2 separate regions of the Homo sapiens genome follow, and region 1 is linked to region 2. Evidence: promoter capture Hi-C in human tissues and cell types (Jung and others, 2019). All regions are on one chromosome and are shown on one strand. Each heading gives the region's core, a stretch centred on a gene start or on the middle of the fragment in contact. The rest is flanking DNA. Distances are from core to core; before and after follow the strand shown.

Region 1 (3,097 bases), core at 551-3,050, 490 kb after region 2:
AAAGAAGTAAATAATTTTCTATTTCCCTCTAATTTTTTCTATTGCTTTTCTGCTAGTTTCTCTTTCATAAAAACTTTTATAATGCTGTTTGTTTTTTAAGAAAGAAAATTGTAGTCCTTGGGAAAGGTGTAATGTAGTGATTGGCAGCAATGAAGGTAAAAACTTGACCCAACACATATAATGAGATTTTTTTTTTTCTTTTTCTTTTCTTGTTTTTTGAGGAAGGGTCTCACTGCCACCCAGGTGGGAGTGCAATAGTGCGATCATGGCTCACTATAGCCTCAACCTCCTGGGCTCAGGTGATCCTCCCATTTCAGCCTCCCAAGAAGCAGGGACTACAGGCATGTGCCAACACTCTTGTCCAATTTTTTGGTGTTTTTTCTAGAGATGGGGTTTCATCATGTTTCCAAGGCTGGTCTCAAACTCCTGGGCTCAAGTGATCCACCTGCCTTGGCCTCCCAAAGTGCTAGGATTATAGGCGTTAGCTACTGTGCCTGGCCAAGATTTCTCATAGTCAAAGAATACTTGTTGGTAAACCTCACTTTACAAAAGAGAAGAAATGTGTCTTCCTCTAACTTTGAACATGCTTTAGCATTACTTACAGATCTGGGTTGCCCTGAGAATCTCCGGTTATAATCATTAATATCCTGATGCAATCTCAGAACATCCTGAGACTGATCATCTTCACCAAATACTGTTAGGAGTAAGGTTACCTGTATATTACAGAAAAAAAAATTATTTCAACTTTCTGCATCATTATGTTTTTTTCATTTTGTGTTATTATTCAATAGAATGATAAAGGCTTCTATATTTATATTTCACTCATTTTTAAATAAAGGCAACCTGGGGGAGGGGAGTAAGTAACTGCTTTGCAATAAAATCCAATGCAACATAGAATTTGAACTCCTATAAAATAGACACCATATCCAACTACTGGCCTAATATTTTCCTGTCCACACCAGGGGTAAATTCCTTAGTTCTCTATTTGGGCTAACAGATATTTGAAGATAAAAGAAGGATGAGGAAACATTCAGGAGGAAAGTGACATAAAATATATAACTGTCACTTTAAGACAGAAAAATTATGGTTTTCTTTTTCAGTATTAAAATAATGATTGGTTATTCTTACTGGTATTTGAAAGATCTTTGAATGCTACCAACCATAATATAAAGATTATGTTATTGCAGGGACCAGCTCTCAAACACCAATTCCTACTATAATAAAAAAAAGAAATTTTTGATATTGTCATATAACATAATACATTTAACCCTGCTTCCTTCATGGTTGTGGTAACAAGGATGTACAAATGTCCCAGGACCATACTGGGGTAATCTGACGGTGACAGTACCTTGAAAAATAAATACACTTTAGGACGTAGCACCCTTATAGAAAATGGTCACTAATGATTGTATGATGACATAAAAACGGGAAGGAGTGGTGGCCGATTTAGTTTTAAATCATTTAGTTGTTGTTTTGTCCTTCCTCAGTTCAGCTGTAAAACCAAGGCTTCCCACTGTTTAGATGCTTTCCAAACAGCTAAAAGAAGGCGTGACTAAGCACAGAAGGTGGTGAGAACAGCAGGTGCAGCCATCACTTCCTTCACAAATTTGTTAATAAAAATGCATTCTTTCAATACACATTAATGGAACACCTATGGCGGGCCAGGCACTCTGCTTAGTGCTAGGTATGCCAGAAAAATGAAGTCAAAAGCCTGCTCCAGGGTGACTACAACACCCACAAGGAAAGGGGAGGAAGACCTGGCCGACAGCCTTACATGGTCCTGGGGCAGGTGCAAGAATGCTGCTGTGAGAGCGAGGATCTCTTCTGCCTGGGGTGGTCAGAAAGCCTGATACTGAGCCAAACCTGGAAATGGTGGTAGGACTGTGGCTGGTGTGCACGCATTCAAGGGGAGAAGTGGTGAATGTGTTCCAGTCAGAGGCGGCAGCCTGTGTATTGCTATTTCCATGACCATTTACTGAAGGGGCTACTGAAAACAGGAGGTAGAACAAGCATTTGCCATCTGTCTTGCCTCCAGGATGAATTACTCTTATCTTAGGGAACCAAGACCTATTATATTAAGACAACTTTATCTCGACCTTCTGAGCCTCTAGTCAATTTATGGATGGTACACAGGATACCACTGGCTACTGTACACATGTCCTATGAAAAGCCATGGGCAGAACCAAGAAGAGGGAGGGCCTGGAACTATTTTTTTAATGTAAGACCTACTCCCTAGTTTGGATGTTGCTGACCGAGAGCAAAAGATGCCAAGAAGTAGTACGGGCAAATAAGCTTCAATTTAAAAAAAAAATTTTTTTTTGAGACAGTCTCGCTCTGTCTCCAGGCTGGAATGCAGTGACACCACCTCGGCTCACTGCAACCTCCACCTCCCAGGTTCAAGTGATTTTTCTGCCTCAGCCTCCCAAGTAGCTGGGACTACAGGTGTGCGCCACCATGCGCAGCTAATTTTTGTATATTTAGTACAGACTGGGTTTCACCATGTTGGCCAAGATGGTCTTGATCTCTTGACCTTGTGATCTGCCCGCCTCAGCCTCCCAAAGTGCTAGGATTACAGGCGTGAGCCATCACGCCCGGCCATAAGCTTCAATGTTGACTGCCTTGTGTCACGCATCAAATCAGCCAGAGAGGCATATAGAAACATCAGTTTTCCTCCTGACCATGTGGCCACAAGTAAAATATGAAAGAGGCAGAATTTGGGAATGTATAAGCAAGAATGGTAAGAAAATGACTTGGACCTCCCTCTTTGCACCAAAATAAGAGGGCAGTTGAGGGGAAACAGACAGCTACAATAAAGGCTGAAGGAGAGAGAGAGAGAGAGTGTGTGTGTGTGTGTGTGTGTGTGTGTGTGTGAACATTCCACCCACGGGTAAGTGGAGGAATACTTTTTTTTTTTTTAGTGTGTGTGAACATTCCACCCATGGGTAAGTGGAGGAATACTTTTTTTTTTAGTGATGTAATCTCGTTCTATTGCCCAAGCTGGAGTGCAGTCCCATGATCATAGCTCATTGCAGCCTCAACCTCCTGAGCTCAAGCAATCCCCCCACCTCAGCCTCCCAAGTAGCTGGGACTACAGGTA
Region 2 (3,226 bases), core at 695-3,194:
AATCCCAGCACTTTGGGAGGCCGAGGTAGGTGGATCACCTGAGGTCAGAAGTTCGAGACTAGCCTGACCAACATGGTGAAACCCTATCTCTACTAAAAATAACAAAAATTAGCCGGGCATGGTGGTACATGCCTGTAGTCCTAGTTACTCCAGAGGCTGAGGCAGGAGAACCACCTGAACCCGGAGGCCGAGGCTGCAGTGAGCTGTGGACAACAAGGGCGAAACTCCGCCTCAGAAAAAAAAAAAAAAGGAAAAGAAAAGGCAGCTGCATACATTTACTTCAAGCATGAATCTAGGAAGCACCATTAGAGAGTGCCTACCCTGGAATATTCTAGTCTATGGGGCTTAGACACTACCTTCGGTTTAAAAACCACTGTTGGCGTTATGTCGCTCACCGTTCACACAGAGTGTCCCAGGGCAGCACATGGCATCTCGCTGGCACCTCCTCCGCAACCCACGACATGTAGCACAGAACGGCTTCTCATCGCGGGGCTGGAGGCAGAACTTTCTGGTATTGCAGTCCGTGTCAGACAGGCACTGTGAGCCCTGTGGAGGGAATCTGTTATCACAAGGCTAGGAAACCCCCAACACGATGGAAGATGACTTATTATTGAAGGCAGGAGGCGGAGGGAGCCAAAGGACAGTGGCGCTGTGACAAACCCTGGGCAGCATCTTACTCTCCAGTGGAAATGGTTTTCTCCCACAAAGGGAAGCTCATGTCACCCGGGGAGACCTAGGCGCTGCAAAGGCTATTTGAGTTTGAAAAATTGACTTAACTCAGAATTTAGTTTTCCTGTGCTCTTTGTGAAAATGGGAAAAAATGTTTTCCTATGTGTGTCTTAACAGGTGAGTATGAGATTTTCAATATATCTTAACTCTAGAAGCTGGCTACAGTTTCATTAAACATACTATTGATGTTTGTGGCATTCCTATTTGATTTTTTACTCTAGTGAATCACATTTAGCTTAGAGACCCTTCCCTAAGTGAACTGTCCTTTGATTTTCAATGATGCCTCATTGACATAGAGAAAGAGATACCGAAGATCAATTGTTCTCATACACAGTTGATGCTTCTACATAGACATACAACGTAGGTGTAGCATATATGATATATGTAATAATCTATACGATATATAATAACATATACACATACATAAAGCGATTCCTAAAACAACTCTCTCTGTGAAGTTAGATGGTGACAAGGCAATGCATCATGGCCCTCTGTTTAAATTCTCATTCCCATGTTTGCTTGCTGGCTGTGTGAGCTTGGGTAAGCTCTTCAACATCTCTGAGTCTTATTTCCTCATCTGGAATTAGGGAATGTTTCACCTATCTCAAATTGTGAGGAAGAGTACATGACGTATTACATGTAAAAGAGCTGGCACATAGTAGAGCTTCCAAAGTGTTCGTTTATTTCGTGATTTATAGACAAACGTATGGCCGAATGATGTGAAAAGCCACTGTGTTTATTTCATACATTCACACTAAGGCCACTGATCCTACCAGGATGCCCTCCCAAATCCGAAACCAATTCAATTTACCTGCTAGGTAAGACATTTCATACATGAATCAGAATGACTTACTAAAGCCTAAACAAAACACCCCAGCTGTCAGCAGTCCCGTACCTCGCCCCCCTCCCTAGCAGCCTTACCTTCCGGGCCCCATGCAGGTCAGCAGAGCTCCTGATGTTGTTGAAGTCCAGGACCAGAGCTCCCAGGGGAGAGCAGAGCCAGCTCAGCCCCAGCAGGACGGCCGCCACCATCCTTCAATCCCGGGGCTCCTGGAGGGTCCCAGCACTGTGCGTCACCAAAGCGAGGCTGCTCTCCACCCAGAGCAGAGCTTCCACTAAGCTGGCAGCTCAGCACGTCGTCTGTTTGTCACTGCTTTTTCTGAAAGAAGTAAACCTTAGTCTGAGTAAGGTGCGTGAAATCGGCTGAGCAAAGTCTGACCAGCAGGTTCCTCCTGAAACTATTTATAACCAGATGTGCCTCCTCCCCGCTCCGTTCCTTCCTCCTGCCCCACACAGGCTTCAACAAATCCCTTCAAATCTGTTTGATCAATAGTTCAAAACAAGGACTCAATAGAAGGAGAGAAGAGGCAGGGCCATGCGGCTTCTCCTCCAGGGGTTCAATCCCTCTTAATTATTGCATATCAAAGTTAGTTCAAAGGGCCACGGCAGAGCAGGATGTCTGTATCAAAGGCAAACTCTGATAATCACCTGCATTTCCTACCTTCAGTAATCCTTTGGGGGTAGGGAGGGAGTCTGCCCTAAGATCTGTTTTCACAGCTAATTGTGCTCAAAGAAAGGATGAATCATACTGGCCAATATGCTATAGAGGATGCCAAAAACTAATGAGGTACAAAATACACTGAGAAGCTGTAAACTGGGCTTCAGATAGTGAGGACAGATAGAAAAAGAGAAAACGCCCCCTGATTAGCTCTGGCATCCAGATGTCAAAATCCCAACCGCTTAAAAGTTGTGAACGTAACAGCACCTGTTCTGACTAAATGCCATTTGGGAAATTACTTTCCTTTAAATGAAAATTGAACTGTTTGAAGTTAGGGTTATTAGGAAAATAATGTAATTTATGAAAATCCCATTTTTCAATGGTGGGAACAATGATAGCGCATTTTACACAATTCAGTACGAAGCTTTGGGTCCATTTTATCAGCAACATATTTAATTTGTGTTGCATTATGTAAAACTCACTTAAGCAGAACAAGGATCCAAGTCTCTGGCTGATTTCAGATGAAATTTCATGTATTTCCAATTTTCCTAATACGAATTTTTTAAAACTTCTGCTTCATCCCTTTCCTGTCTGATTTTTTTCCATTTGGACTATTAGTCAGGTAATTTAGACATGTGCTTATCACTGTCTTAAATACTTTAAGGGTAGAACAATCTAGATCTGGATCAAAAAATCATTTTTTCTCTTCATTGTTTCATTGCTCTTAGCATAGAGTCATCTAAAATGCATTTTTTCTATGCCATAAATGATAATCTTATTATTTACTACATTTTCCTGCAGAACAACCTAACATCAATTCATTGACATGAATCTCAGCATTCTGTGCATGGGAACATTCTCAATTTTGAGTAATGCAGTGCCATTCCGAGGGTGATGCAGGTGATTCGAGCCTTCCTACTACTTGGCCCTTGTCCTTGGGTTGGTATTGCTTGTCTACCTCTCGTATGGAAGTTACTTGTTTTAATCCCTTAAACTGAC

What was found. The method cuts DNA at HindIII sites, captures the fragments that hold promoters and counts their contacts. A contact is called where the count stands out against the background at its distance.
Region 1: a contact is called between a fragment that was not itself captured here and the fragment with the promoter of DKK4 in region 2, in 1 of the 25 tissues and cell types used here (heart left ventricle).

The regions. Positions count from the first base shown.
Region 1 is chr8:42,861,143-42,864,239 of GRCh38, forward strand. It overlaps RNF170 (ring finger protein 170), which reads right to left. Exons shown (of 7, transcript NM_030954.4): 6 at 603-713. Among named protein-coding and RNA genes, the nearest start is that of THAP1, 19 kb to the left of the region's middle. The HindIII fragment of the contact is 3,920 bases long and covers 1-3,097 here.
Region 2 is chr8:42,375,285-42,378,510 of GRCh38, forward strand. DKK4 (dickkopf Wnt signaling pathway inhibitor 4) reads right to left here and starts at 1,945. Exons shown (of 4, transcript NM_014420.3): 1 at 1,651-1,945; 2 at 396-546. The coding sequence starts at 1,761. The HindIII fragment of the contact is 8,640 bases long and covers 1-3,226 here.